5 separate regions of the Homo sapiens genome follow, and regions 1, 2, 3 and 4 are each linked to region 5. Evidence: promoter capture Hi-C in 16 types of primary human blood cells and fetal thymus (Javierre and others, 2016). All regions are on one chromosome and are shown on one strand. Each heading gives the region's core, a stretch centred on a gene start or on the middle of the fragment in contact. The rest is flanking DNA. Distances are from core to core; before and after follow the strand shown. Region 1 overlaps OSBPL2 (oxysterol binding protein like 2). Region 2 overlaps MTG2 (mitochondrial ribosome associated GTPase 2). Region 3 overlaps LINC02970 (long intergenic non-protein coding RNA 2970). Region 4 overlaps SS18L1 (SS18L1 subunit of BAF chromatin remodeling complex). Region 5 holds the start of RPS21 (ribosomal protein S21).

Region 1 (2,700 bases), core at 174-2,673, 140 kb after region 5:
TCAACCCTGACTCGGGAAGGCCCTGTGCTACGCGTGCCAGCCAGGCAAACTTGCCAGGTGCACATGAGGACTCTGCATCAGTCCAGAATTCACGCAGGAAGTTTCTACACTGAGAAAGGCAGGTGAACCTCTCCCACTGTGCAGACAGCAGCACCCCCACTGTTTACCATTCTCCATGCCAAGAGGGTGACCTTGAGAGGCAGGCAAAGGTGAGCCCGGCTTGGTCCCAAGAAGCAGCTGTGGGGAGTGGCAAACCTTCCCACTGGGCCTCGCGGCCAGTGTGGCCCGACGTCCCGGAAGCGGAGCCTAGCGCCCCACTCACCACAGTCAACTCCCTCAAGTCTTGTCGCTGACTTAACTGCTTCCTGTGGAATATTAATTGCCAAAAATACACCACGCACCTCGAGGAACATTACCTTGTAATGCAGTACGATGTATTTCCAAACACACAAGATGAATGCAAGCGCTTCCGTACAAAAACATGTGTTTTAATCAACCTTCTCCTTATGCAACACAATAAAAAGCTGTTCCAATGCGGCCCACGAGACTGGGTGGGAAGGCAATGGACAGGGCGCATGCCCCACAGCTCACGGGCGCCCTGCTCTCAGAAAGCCATGCCGGAGGGCAGGGAGAGCACTCCAAGGGCAGCAGCAGTCCAGCCAGCCCCCGACCCGCCGCCGCTGTGTATCTCTGATGATCAAAACCAACGGCCCCGAGAGGAGCCCAGCCTGCGGCTGCAGCTAGAGGAGAAGGAGACACCTTGTACCCACATCTCACAACCCAGCAAGGGCCACAGCAGGCGGAGGACGCGGTGAGGGAGTGGGAGGAAAATTAAGACAGCAAAGGGAAGTGAGTGACCCAGGTGAGAGGCTGTTGTCCTGCAGGGCTCCCGGCCTTCCCCAGGGCACCTGCCCAGCCAAGGAGTGGCTGGCTTGCTGGAGTGCGTCCTTGCCCTCTGGCCGCCTCCTTCTCTGTGGCCTCAGCTCCAGGCCCTCCTCACCATCGTGCCCATCTTCATCCTGTGCAGCCCTAATGGGGTCCACTGTGCTGAGAAACCTGTCACCCTAACATCAGACCTGCCCACGTGGCTGCCAACTGTGCTTCCTGAGCACCTACAGGCAGGGCTTCAAACCAAGGTCAGGGAAAACCACCAATCTCTAACCCCCCTACCCTCTGCAAAAAAAATTTTTTTTTAATTAAAAAATTTAAAAAAACAGGAAAAAAAATTTTTCGTTCATTTTTTTCCCCAGAATAATGACCCACATTATTCATATTCATGAAGTTCTCAAAGGGGTCCTTGATCTAAAAAAGGGTCCTGACCCCACCGTGGGCCTCCAGCACTTGGACTCCCCGCTGAGGACCCACCCCAGACCCTCCCGAGCTTGTTAAACACATCTCTTCCTGGGCCCCTCCCGGGAAACCCAGGCTCAGTGAAGCTGGGGCTGGGCCTTGAACCCACACTTTTTAAAAAGTTCCCCCAGCTTTTCTGATGAGAAGCAGGGGTGAAAACTCCATGATGTTAACCCAGGAGCCTTCTACCCTGACAGCCGAGCCACTGAAGAGGCGGAGCTGCCGGGCAGGCGCTGCGGGGCAGGCGCTGCGGGGCAGGGGCTGCGGGGCAGGCGCTAGGGCTCCTCGGGCACCTCTGCACTGGGACCCCTCCCCTGGCCCCAGCTCAGGCACTGCCCTGGCTCTGCTTCCGCTCAGGTGTTCCAGCATTTCCCACAGGTGAGACTTACTTGGAAGACGGGTGATGATTACAGCGAGACTCCCAGCTCTGCTACATCATCAAGAGAGGCCAAGCCAGAGCCAGGGCACTCGCAGGAGCTCGCCACCACAGACGCAGCCCGTGTCCTCTTTCACAGTAAGAGGGTAGCCCCACGCCCTGTGCGCACCTGACACCTGCCGTCATTATCGGAGTCACCGAAATGTCACTGAATCACAGTCCCCCTAGTTTTAAGGCAATAATGGAAGTTGCTCTCTGGCCGAGCACAGTGGCACAAGGTCCCAGGTTACAGGGGGCTCTTTCTCACGATCAGCCTTGGATCAGCCTTAGGTTTATTCAGTACAAAGCACAGGCACTCACTTCCACACCATAGTCCTCCTTCCTCTACAGCTGCCTCCGTCTTTTCTGGAACCAAAACTCCACACAACTCCCTACACACTACAGTCCTCCCTGCCTGGTGCTCCTCCAAGAACTCCCCGTATGAGCCCACAACAGGCGCTCTCTGGGCACCCCTGAAGGTTGCAGTCCCAGCGCCTTTGATAAAGAAATGTGCTCAGTGTCTGCTCAGCCAAGAGCCCCTCAGACCCTTCCCACCCCTGACTTGCCTCAGCGTCGGGGCCACAGCCCCCAGGCCCTCAGTGCGCAGGTGAGAAGTACACACCTTACACCCAGGAGAGAGGCCTGATGACCGCCACAAGCCCTGAGGGTGCGGGAACCTCTTCAGGCCCCAAACTATGGAGCCAGCCACTAGCTCAACAGGACTGATCCCAGAGTTTGTTTCTCAAAATACATCAAGCGAGTGTTCCACTGAAAACAGAAGGCAAGCAAAGAGAAACAGCCACAAACATCAGGCACGAGTCTCAGATCCAGTCCCTTATAAAAGCTCACTTCCACCACTCAGCTCAACTCAGAGGTCACAGGATTTGCATCAGCAGAAGCTCCAGCGGAAAGAATGTGGATGCTGTGACATTCTG
Region 2 (2,700 bases), core at 108-2,607, 200 kb after region 5:
TGTGTACAGAAGGGGCCCCAGTGGACGGCTGAAAACTCAACACGGGGCCAGAGCGGGAGCACAACGAGGGGACACCGCCTGCCTCCTCCCTCGCAGTGCCTCGGACGCCTCCCTCTCCCCAGCCTCACTCCTCTGAAAAGGTGCCACCTCCTTTGGGGGGGTCACTATCTCTGTGGGGTCCTTGGCCATTCTGCTTTAATTCTGAGGCAATCACAGTTACAGAAAAGCTGGAAGAAGAGTACAAAGAACTTCCTCCTGAATCACTTAAGAGTCAGTCGCCGACTGGACTTCCCTGCACCCAGAACAGTCCATGTGTGTTTCCTAGAGAAAATGGTGTCCCCTCCAGAACCAGGGTGTCATTGAGACTGGCCATGACCGACAGCCCCTCCCACGTGGGCCCCGGTCTCAGCAGTGCCTCTCCCTGTAGGAAAGTCTGCGTCCCTATCCCGGCTGCCTGCAGCTGCCACACCTTGTCCAGCTCCTTGGGCTGGAAGGTTCCTCAGCCTCTCCTGACTCCCGAGCCAGCCCTGACACGTGGGAGGCAGCAGGCCAGCTGTGCACAGGACGTCCTCATTCCCAATTCAGCACTCTGGGGTCATTCTAATTTTCTCTTGTGGTCTTGGTAACTCCATTCTCCGCCTATAAGAAACCGGGCCTCCATGCACTTTAAGATATTTATGGAGCTGCTCAACCCCTACCTGCTGTGACCCGCCCTCAGCTCCACCTCCCCGCCTGCTCCCAGAGCTCCCCATTCTTTAGCGGGTCTCTGTTCTCCGACTGGCTGAGTTCCCGTGCCGGGCCACCTCTCCATGGGACACCCTCCCCTTGATACCCTTCCTGTAAATATATTTTACAGGACAGCTGATTTTGAGATGGTTTTAGATTTGTGGACAAGGTGCAAAGGCATCCCTGCGGACTTCCTCCCCAGTGCCCCCGCAGCCGTGCCTGTGCGGCCGCCGCCGCTGCACCGCTACTAACTGAGCTCCAGGTGGGGCTTGGGGCTCAGCAGTTTCCCAAGAGCGTCCTTCTTCTGGTCCAGGATCTAGGCCAGGATCCACCCTGCTTTTAACCATTATGTAGGGATATTTTTAAGTGTTGTCAGAAAAGAGGCACCGAGGTATTCTATACGCAGGGAAAATATCTTTCAGAAACGAAGGTGCAATAAAGATTCTAGATGGCAGAAAACGAACATAGTTTGTCACTAATACAGCTGCTGTATAAGGAATGCTCAAGAAAGTTCCTCGGGTTGAAGGAAAATGATACCAGAGGGAAGCCTGGATCTTGAGGAGGGAAGGGAGAGCAACAGAATTGGTAAATATAAAATACTATTGTTTTCCTCTTAGGAGTTCTTAAATATGTAAGACTGTAGACAAAAAAATACTGCGTAGTTGGCTTCCAACGCGCACAGAAGTAATCCACATGAAAGGCAACAGAAAGGTCAGGAGGGGATTCGAGGGACCCAGATGACTGCAAGGTCCCCACGTTTCTGTGAGGGGCACAGTATGAACTCTGAGCAGACAGTGAAGGCTAACAGGTGTGCAGACTGGAACCTCCAGAGCAATGACTAAGACACAACACAAAGACACAGATCCGAAAAGCCAACAGATAAATGAAATGCTCAGAACTAGCCCAACAATTCCAAAGAAAAAGAACAAACAAACAAAAAACAGAGGGGACAAATAGGAAACAAATAATAAAAGTGCACCTAAATCTAACCATATAAATAATTTCATTAAATGTTAATGTTGGCTGGGCGCGGTGGCTCATGCCTGTAATCCCAGCACTTTGGGAGGCTGAAGCGGGCGGACCACGAGGTCAGGAGTTTGAGACCAGCCTGACCAACGTGGTGAAACCCCGTCTCTACTAAAAATACAAAAATTAGCTGGGCATGGTGGCGTGTGCCTGTAATCCCAGCTACTCAGGAGGCTGAGGCAGGAGAATTGCTTGAACGGGGAGGCGGAGGTTGCAGTGAGCCGAGATTGCATCATTGCACTCCAGCCTGGAAGACAGAGCGAGACTCCATCTCAAAAAAAAAAAAAAAAAAAGTTAATGTTTACAAATTCTAATTAAAAGGCAGAGGTTGACAAAGTGGATTAAAAAGAGCTAGCTGGGCACAGCAGTTCCTGGCTGTAATCCCAGCACTGTAGGAGGCCAAGGCGGGAAGATCTCTTGAAGCCATGAGTTCGAGACCAGCCTCGGCAAAATAGCAAGACTCCTGTCTCTACCAAAGGAATTAGCTGGGCATGGTGGCGCACCCCTATAGTCCCAGCTACTTTGGAGGCTGAGGTGGGAGAATCACTTGAGCCCATGAATTCAAAGCTGCTATGAGCTATGAATATGCCACCGCACTCCAGCCTGAGCAATAGAATGAGAGAAAGAGACACTTTTTTTTCTTTTTTTTTTTTGAGACAGAGTCTCACTCTGTCACCCAAGCTGGAGCACAGTGACATAATCACAGCTCATTACAGCCTTGACTTCCTGTACTTAAGAGATCCTCCTGCCTCAGCCTCCTGAGTAGCTGGGGCTACAGGTAAGTGCCACTGTGCCTAATTTTTAAATTTTTTTTGCAGAGACAGGGTCTCCCAGTTACCCAGGCTGGTCTCAAGCGATCCTTCTGTCTTGGCCTCCCAAAGTGCTGAGATTACAAGCATGAGCCACCACACCTGGCCTGAGACCCTGTCTAAAAATAGAAAAATAAAA
Region 3 (2,700 bases), core at 155-2,654, 210 kb before region 5:
CCGTAACTCCACATTTGTGTTTTTCATGCTTGGAGCTTCTGTAGGAAGATGGAGGTTGGCCAAAGTTTCAGTGACTAAAAGTGTGAAATTCATTTAAGTCCATCAAACTCAAACTTGTGCAGGCACCAGGCAGTCACCCTTGATGAAGGCAGCTGGCCAGGCATAAGGGACACAATCCGCAGAGCCAACGAGACCAGAAATGATGCTGGACCACAGAGCGCGTGGACAGTGAGGAGCGGTGAGGCCTGTGCAGAGGGCAGTAGCCAAGCCCAACACAGCTGAGTGCAGCCACGCACAGCCCAGCCACGCCACACCACGCCCAGTCACATCCAGCCCAACACAGCTGAGTGCAGCCATGCCCAGTCCAGCCACGCCACACCACACCCAGCCACACCCAGCCCAACATAGCCATGACCAACCACACCCAACCCAGCCCAGCCTAGCCACGCCCAGCCCAGCTCAGCCGTGTCCAGCCCAGCCACGCCCAACCCAACACAGCCACGCCCAGCCCTTGGAAGCCACACCCCACTCCCCACACCACACCTGAATACAGGCCTAGTGTTACCAGAACTTCTAATTTTCCAACAGAAATGTGCAATTGGGGTCATTATGTTCAGTTTCCCAGTTTTGAATATAGTTTCAACTATCTTGACCAGCTCTACTGAGGATTATTTGACACAATCAACTGCACATGTAAAAGTGATGATTTGGAAAGCTTCGACCTATGTGCACACCCACGAAACCCTTCCCATGGTCCACGGTGAACCTCGTCACCCACAGCATGTCCTCCTGCCTGTGTCCTCCCACCCCTGTCCCCAGGAACCACCGATGTCACTACAGACAACTGCATTTTGCAGAATTCCATATGAACGAAGTCACATGTATACACGCCTTCTTTCACGCAGCATAATTATTTTCACGTTTGATTTTGTCATGTGTTTCAAAATTCCACTCCTTTTTATTTCTGCGTTGTATGGATGCACCATGATTTGTTCATCCAATCACTTGTTGGTAGACATTTTGGTTTTTCCCCCAGGTTTTTGCTATCACAAATAAAACTGCTATGGACAGTCATGCATAAGTCCTTGTGTGAACGCGTTTTCATCCCTCTGGGAAGAATTCCTAGGAGTGGAACGGCTGAGTCTCTGGTAGGGGTGTGTCTAGCTTAAGAACCTGCAGGACAGTTTTACAGAGTGGCCGAACCATCTTCCATCCCCCCCAGCAGTGTACGGCAAACTTTCAACAGCACTGCACAGCCCTAAGACGCACATGCCTGTGGGTGCTGCCCAGCCGTGGCTGCCAGCTTGTCTCTGGTCCAGATCACTTCTTGTTCAACAGATGGGGAGGCCTAGGGAGACCACAGGCCATGCCAAAGGTCATGCAGCAGCTGTCAGCTGAGCAAGGCTGGCAGTGGCCCAGGCTGGTCATGCCCCCTCCATGCTGGCAACTGTCTCCACCAAGGCACACTCTGGTGGAAGCTGGAGGCAGGGGACACTACTCTAAGTGGAGTCATCTGAGAGATGCACCGACCACACCTCTTCTGTGTTTCTATCCCCGAGCTCCCAGGGGCCAGGACCACCTGCCCAGGGAGTGCTCATTGTGCCAAGAAGAACATGACCCAGCACAGGGTCACTGCAGGTCCCTAAGCAGAAGGGCTGGCCCGGGCAGGACCCCAAAGGCTCGGTAGCAAGGTGCTCCTCCCGAAAGCTGTGATTCCCGGAGTGATCCGGGCTCCGGGGTGGGACCTCCTGGTGCAGGGTCCTGAGCTTCGCCTATGCCAGGCTTTGGAAGCATCCTCTGAGGGCCCCTTCGGAAGGAGCATTGGGATGAATTAAACAGCAAGGCAGGGCTCGCCTAGTGCATGCTCTGCTGACAAATGCGGTCATTTTTCTCGATTCTGGGAAAGAAGGGATACGGACTTGTTTCGTCTTGCCATGTCTAGAACTCCTCTCGGAGTCTCCAGTTAGTAGGGAGAAGGGAGTGCCGTGGTCTCTGGGTCCTGCTGGCACGTGGAACCCAGTTCTGCAGGGTCTCACACCTGTCCTCTTCTTGTCACCCTCTCTGTCTTTCTCAGCAACTTTTCAGAAGCTTCAGAAGAAGGACGCCGGAGAATGCCCGCCCGGGACTCCGAGGTGCCCTGTGCTCATGGATTGGTCCTCCTGGCTCCATGAGTGTGAGTGAGTGTCTGCAGGTCCCTGGCACAAAAGCTGCAGTGCTGAGCAGGTGGCTAATGGCCCTGGCTGGGTGATTTTGGACAAGTCACCTTTGCCTCTCTGGCCTCCATTGTCCCTCTGTCAAACAGGCCCCACGACAGCAAGCGTTGGTTATTGTGTCTATGGTCAACATCCCACCTGCCTTTCTGGGCAGAGACGTTTGGGAGCAGTGGCTGTATCCCTGAGCACGTCGTAAGGGCACTTTCCTGCATGCCCTGGCTGGAGGGACCTGTTGCTGGGAAAACTCCCCAGAGTGTGAACCGGCGGCGGCTCCACCATCTGGGTGCCGTGGGCATGGTGCATGGCGGGAAGGAGGCCGGCACCACAGAAGGGTGGCAGCTGTCCCCGGAAGGCTCTCCCCTGAGGGCGCCCAGGGCTCCACCGCTAGCCAGCCATCTCCTTGCAGTAAGGCACGTTTCCTCCAGATCCTCTCGGAACTGCCGGGAGTGGCTGCCCCACCCGCCCAGCTCTCCCTGGGTCCTGCCAG
Region 4 (2,700 bases), core at 64-2,563, 220 kb after region 5:
CTGCGCGGCACCCTGCTGGTACCCGGCCTGCTGCTGGCTGTACTGGGAGTTTCCTGGAGGGAGGAGGAGACACAGAAATGACTTTCCCCACCTGGGCTAAGGGGGCTCATTCTGTGGCCCACTCACGACACGGTAACTTTGGAATCCCAAAACCAAATCCATTGCTTCGGCATGTTTATTTTTTCACAACCATTCAAATACTATACTACACCTTTATCTTATAGAAATACAAATGGAAAGCTAAGAAACGAAATGGTTAATATGACAACTAAGACAGAGATGAACGCCAGCGTCGCGGGTCAAATGTGCTCCCCAGAGAGATGCTGATGTCCTAACTCCAAGTACCTGTGAATGGAACCTTATTTGGACATAGGGTCTTTGCAGATATAATTTTTTTTTTTTTTTTCAGAGACAGGGCCTCGCTCTGGGACCCAGGCTGGAGTGCAGTGGTGCAATGAGGGCACACTGCAGCCTCCATCTCCCTGGCTCAAGTGTTCCTCTCACTTCAGCCTCCCAAGTAGCTAGGACTACAGTGTGTGCCAGCGTGCCCAGATAATTTTTTTTTTTTTTTGAGATGGAGTTTCGCTCTGTTGCCCAGGCTGGAGTGCAGTGGCGAGATCTCAGCTCAGTGCAAGCTCCGCCCCACCCGGGTTCACGCCATTCTCCTGCCTCAGCCTCCCGAGTAGCTGGGACTACAGGTGCCCGCCACAACGCCAGGCTAATTTTTTGTATTTTTAGTAGAGATGAAGTTTCACCATGTTAGCCAGGATGGTCTCGATCTCCTGACCTTGTGATCCGTTCACCTTGGCCTCCTAAAGTGCTAGGATTACAGGCGTGAGCCACGGTGCCCGACCATGCCCAGGTAATTTTAAATCTTTTGTAGAGACAGGGTCTCTCTATGTTGCCCAGGCTGGTCTCGAACTCTTGGCCTCAAGCAATCCTGCTGCCCCTGCCTTCCAAAGTGCTGGGATTACAGGCGTAAGCCACCATGCTCTGCGCAAAGAATCCATTTTCTACTTTACTTTTCTGGTTGGAAATAACTTTCCTTTTTTAGAAGCTGTAAAATTTAAGTATTTTAAAACTGCAATCTAGTATTTTTTTTAAATAACAGCTTTATTGAGATAATGCACACTGGAATGGCTTAAAAACCTATCAGGGTAATTCAATCTGTAGTTAGGTGGGATGACAAAACTAACACACGCTCTTATTCCAGGCTGAACTCCTCCTAAGGCGAGAGCTTCGGAAAAACTTACTTGAGCCTTTCCAGTTATTCTCTATCCAGGAAGTATCTTGAGTCTTGAACTTCCACGCCTTCCTCTAAATCCAGGGCCGGTTCCAGCAACAGCTGGCAAACGAGCTGTCACCGTCACGGGAGAAGACTTAAGGTCACTATCCTTTCTCCTGCCCCCATGAAAGCCATCTGAGACATGGGGGAGTGGGTTTTCAAGGGTGTCAGGCTTTTGGGGGTCAGCCTGCATATTCTCATGTTTTATAGCCCACTTTATTCTTTACATAATAAAGGAGCCAGTTTGTGGCCGGGTGCGGTGGCTCACGCCTGTAATCCCAGCACTTTGGGAGGCCGAGGCGGGTGGATCACAAGGTCAGGAGATCGAGATCATCCTGGCTAACATGGTGAAACCCCGTCTCTACTAAAAATACAAAAAATTTAGCCCGGCATGGTGGCGGGAGCCTGTAGTCCCAGCTACTCGGGAGGCTGAGGCAGGAGAATGGTGTGAACCCAGGAGGAGGAGGTTGCAGTGAGCCGAGATCGCATCACTGCACTCCAGCCTGGGCGATAGAGTGAGACTCCATCTCAAAAAAACATAAACAAAAAAAAAAAATAAAGGAGCCAGTTTGTAGGAAACGGGCCAGCTTTGCCCTGGCACCCAGCAGGTATGCAACAACTGTGAGAGTGCCAGCTCAGAACACCCAGCCCCAGCACACAGGGACCAGGCCTGGCTCTCACACCCCAGTGGGTGCTCAGGCGATCTAGTGGGAACTGGCAGCAGCCGCCCTATCCCCAAAGAAAGGGGGCTGCTGAGATAACTGCAGGGAAAGGGGGCACGACATCTGTGGAAAAGGCCTTTGCCGTTTTCAGATGTGTTGCATGAAATCTGCAGGGCTCGGGGGAGCCCAGGCCGTGCTCTCAACAGGACAGCAACGGGGCGGGCAGATGTGGGGCCTTCCTCCACAACCAGCAAGTACTCCAGGGTTCTTTCTTTTCTTTTCGAGATGGAGTCTCGCTCTGTCACCCAGGCTGGAGTGCAGTGGCACAATCTCGGCTCACTGCAAGCTCTGCCTCCGGGGTTCACGCCATTCTCCTGCCTCGGCCTCCTGAGTAGCTGGGACAACAGGCGCCCGCCACCACGCCCAGCTAATTTTTTTCTATTTTTAGTAGAGACGGGGTTTCACCGTGTTAGCCACGATGGTCTCGATCTCCTGACCTCGTGATCCGCCTGCCCCGGCCTCCCAAAGTGCTGAGATTACAGGCGTGAGCCACCGTGCCCAGCTCTTTTCTTTCTCTAAGAATCCTCTGGCATTCTGCGGGGTGCCCGTGAGAAGGTGCCGGGCAGCATGGCGCATCTGTGTGTGAAACAAGAGGCCACGGCACACCCTCTGCTTCCTCAGAAGGAGCAAGATGTGGACACAATGAGCCACGAGGAACATGTGAACGACGCTCAAAGCCGTGTCACATAAAAA
Region 5 (2,700 bases), core at 1-2,500:
CCATCGGCCTTGGCCAATCGGAGAATGGAATCATCTGACTCACCCTTAAGAAAAAAAAAAAAGCACACTAAGAATATTTCCACTCCGGCTGCCTGAGATGGCAGAAGGTCAGCTGTGCCACCAGCCCACGTCTCTCCCCCGCTGAGCGAATGGAGACAGGCGCAGAAGGGGAGCCACCTCTCCCGGGGCAGCCTGCAGCCTGACTATGGTGGAGCGGGGTCGGGGGGGCACCTCCTAGTGAGAGGCAGAGTCTGCTGCCTGAGTGTCTTCTCAGAGCACCCCTCTTCCACCCTCAAGAAGCGGCAGGCGGCCAGCCCAGTCCAGCTGGCTCAAACTACTCTGCCAGCAGATCTACTCAGGCACCATCACACACTCCAATGCGCACGGTAAAGTCCACGATGTCCCGAAGTGATGAGCAAAGCCCAGGGAAACACTCACCATCCTACGAATGGCCCCGCAGATAGCATAAGTTTTAAACTGGCCATTAAACCTGCCTGTGACCTTGTCAACCTAGAAAGAGAAGAAGGGTCACAAACCACTCCCCCAGGTTTGGGAAACACCAATCCTCAAAGCCAGCCTCTGCCTGTACCTTCACCCCAGGGGCTCCTCCACAATGGGACAGCCTGCCTTTCCCGCACATATATCACAACCTTCCCGCCTCCCGGGCTCCCAGCTCACCTCGGCCACGTTCATCTGGATGGATGCGTGGTCCTTGGCACCGATGATGCGATTGCTAGCGGAGCTGTGGAGAAAGGGCGCAGTGAGCAGAGGGGACTTGGGCGGTAAGAATGAAAGAGGGGACGAGGGAGGTTGGGGGTATATGAATGGAAAAGAGTAACGTCGGGGGCAGGACAAGTTAGGGACGTGACGAGGTAAGGACGGGAGGGGTGTGGGGGAACAAGGGCAGGCGAGGGGACGTGGTGGTTAGGTAAGGACGGAAGAGAGGCATGTGGGGGGCGCTTACCATTTCCGCGGCACGTACAGGTCCACGAACTCGCCGGCGTCGTTCTGCATTTCGAGGCTGGGCTGCGCCTGGGGAGTCACCGCGCGGCGCCGTGAGTACGGCCGGAACCGTGCCCCGGCTCCCGGCGCAAACCGGCCCCTAGGGTCACGGCCCCAGCCGCACCCAGCACCCCGCACCCCGTCCCCCGCGTCCAAGCCCCCACTCCCGCCCCAGCCCCAGCCCTGAGCCCGAAGCCCGCGCCGCGCGCCACACCTGCTGCCACCACACCGCGCGCGAGAGAGAAAGGAAGCAGCTAGTCACCCGGCAGAGATATCGGCGGGCAAGGAGGGGCCTCGGCGAGCGCTTCCGGGTCACGCCACCACAGCGAGTCTGCGCGGTGCGTGCTTGCCGGCCGTCGCCGTGACGCACTTCCGCTTCCGGCAAGGAGGTTCTCGGACCCCAGCCTGCTGGCCCTGGGGCGCGGGGCGTCGTGGGGGTCGTTGTCGTTGAGGGTCGTTGCCGTGTGTGGCGTCTTAGCCTGGCCCCTGGGTTGTGCCCCACGGACGCAGTCGACCCCTCTGAGCGCCTCGGGAGCCCCGAATAGCAGCTGGGAGAAGGGGCGAGGACTGAGCCTCGCTGCCCGCTGCCGGCCGGGCTAGAGATACGGGCGTGCCCCCCATTGTGCGCCTCCCGCCCTCCGGTCCCCTCACCCTGCGGCCACCTGGGGCGTGGGGCGGTGCTCCTGCCCGTGCACGTAGCCGCTGCGAGCGGAGGCCTGCTCACCTGGTGCCTGCTACTCACTCCCCCGGGCCGGTGGGCGAAGGACACCCGCAGGAACTCGGCAGAGGAGAAATTCAGACGGCTCCCGAGGGTAGGAAAAGACCCCGGCCCACCGTGGAATCTGAAACACCCGACCACTCTGCCATCCCATGTTTCACCAGTCAGACCCCCAGGGCAGGGCAGGGGAAGCAGAATGCAAACTGGGGCACCGTTTCCCTGAAGCGTGTTGGCCGCGTTTGTCGTAGTGCTAGAGGTGCATACCCTTGGACCCCGAAAACCCATTCCTGGGAATTTGCTCCAAGGAAGTAAAGATGTTACAAAGATGGACCCACGAAGTATGGTCGTTGGTTATGGGTGGGGTCTTGAGGAAGGCCTTGTTAGTAGCCTGAACCCTGTTGCCAGGAGAAGCTCCAAACCGGTAGACGGAGGGAGCAGCGCGGCCTATGTTGGGGTCTTCTCTGGGCGGGGGACATGATCCTAGGATGTAGAACTAGCCTCAGAAAACTTAAGACTCAGTGGCCAGGTGCGGTGGCTCAGGCCTGTAATCCCAGCGCTTTGGGCGGAGGTGGGTGGATCACCTGAGGTCAGGAGTTCGAGACCCGTCTGGCCAACATGGTGAAACCCCATCTCTACTAAAAATACAAAAAATTAGCTGGGCGTGGTGGCAGGCGCCTGTAGTCCCAGCTACTCGGAAGGCTGAGGCAGGAGAATGGCGTGAACCCGGGAGGCGGAGCTTGTAGTGAGCTGAGATCCCGCCACTGCACTCCAGCCTGGGCGACAGAGCAAGACTGCGTCTCAAAAAAAAAAAGTTTTTTTATGTTTAATTTTTTGGGTACATAGTGGGTGTGTACATTTATGGGGCACATGAGATATTTTCATACCGGCATGCAGTGCGTAGTAATCACATGGGGTATATGGAGCATCCATCACCTCAAGCATTTATCCTTTGCGTTACAAATAATCCAATACTATACTCT

The links. Contacts are between HindIII fragments. The CHiCAGO score rates a contact against its expected background, and 5 or more counts as called.
Region 1: a contact is called between a fragment that was not itself captured here and the fragment with the promoter of RPS21 in region 5, in 8 of 17 cell types (erythroblasts, endothelial precursors, megakaryocytes and 5 more). The highest score is 7.0, in erythroblasts.
Region 2: a fragment that was not itself captured here is called in contact with the fragment with the promoter of RPS21 in region 5 in 1 of 17 cell types (endothelial precursors); the score reaches 5.2 in endothelial precursors.
Region 3: a contact is called between a fragment that was not itself captured here and the fragment with the promoter of RPS21 in region 5, in 3 of 17 cell types (endothelial precursors, M1 macrophages and M2 macrophages). The highest score is 6.9, in endothelial precursors.
Region 4: a contact is called between a fragment that was not itself captured here and the fragment with the promoter of RPS21 in region 5, in 1 of 17 cell types (endothelial precursors). The highest score is 5.3, in endothelial precursors.

Annotation. Positions count from the first base shown.
Region 1 is chr20:62,242,349-62,245,048 of GRCh38, reverse strand. All of the region lies in intron 1 of OSBPL2 (oxysterol binding protein like 2), which reads right to left. Among named protein-coding and RNA genes, the nearest start is that of OSBPL2, 5.2 kb to the right of the region's middle. RefSeq lists enhancers at 40-647, 648-1,256. The HindIII fragment of the contact is 4,482 bases long and covers 1-2,700 here.
Region 2 is chr20:62,189,010-62,191,709 of GRCh38, reverse strand. The region is part of intron 1 of MTG2 (mitochondrial ribosome associated GTPase 2); the gene reads right to left. Among named protein-coding and RNA genes, the nearest start is that of MTG2, 7.3 kb to the right of the region's middle. The HindIII fragment of the contact is 4,226 bases long and covers 1-2,700 here.
Region 3 is chr20:62,596,593-62,599,292 of GRCh38, reverse strand. LINC02970 (long intergenic non-protein coding RNA 2970) reads left to right here. Exons shown (of 2, transcript NR_184037.1): 2 at 2,075-2,700. Among named protein-coding and RNA genes, the nearest start is that of LINC02970, 5.5 kb to the left of the region's middle. The HindIII fragment of the contact is 1,373 bases long and covers 718-2,090 here.
Region 4 is chr20:62,170,035-62,172,734 of GRCh38, reverse strand. SS18L1 (SS18L1 subunit of BAF chromatin remodeling complex) reads right to left here. Exons shown (of 11, transcript NM_198935.3): 9 at 1-53. Among named protein-coding and RNA genes, the nearest start is that of MTG2, 12 kb to the left of the region's middle. The HindIII fragment of the contact is 6,452 bases long and covers 1-2,700 here.
Region 5 is chr20:62,385,653-62,388,352 of GRCh38, reverse strand. It overlaps RPS21 (ribosomal protein S21), which reads right to left and starts at 1,250. Exons shown (of 6, transcript NM_001024.4): 1 at 1,217-1,250; 2 at 965-1,032; 3 at 679-742; 4 at 439-510; 5 at 1-44. The coding sequence starts at 1,014. It overlaps RPS21-DT (RPS21 divergent transcript), which reads left to right and starts at 1,364. Exons shown (of 1, transcript NR_186459.1): 1 at 1,364-2,050. RefSeq lists enhancers at 401-1,092, 1,093-1,784, 2,063-2,112 and silencers at 973-1,162, 1,593-1,712. The HindIII fragment of the contact is 6,470 bases long and covers 1-2,700 here.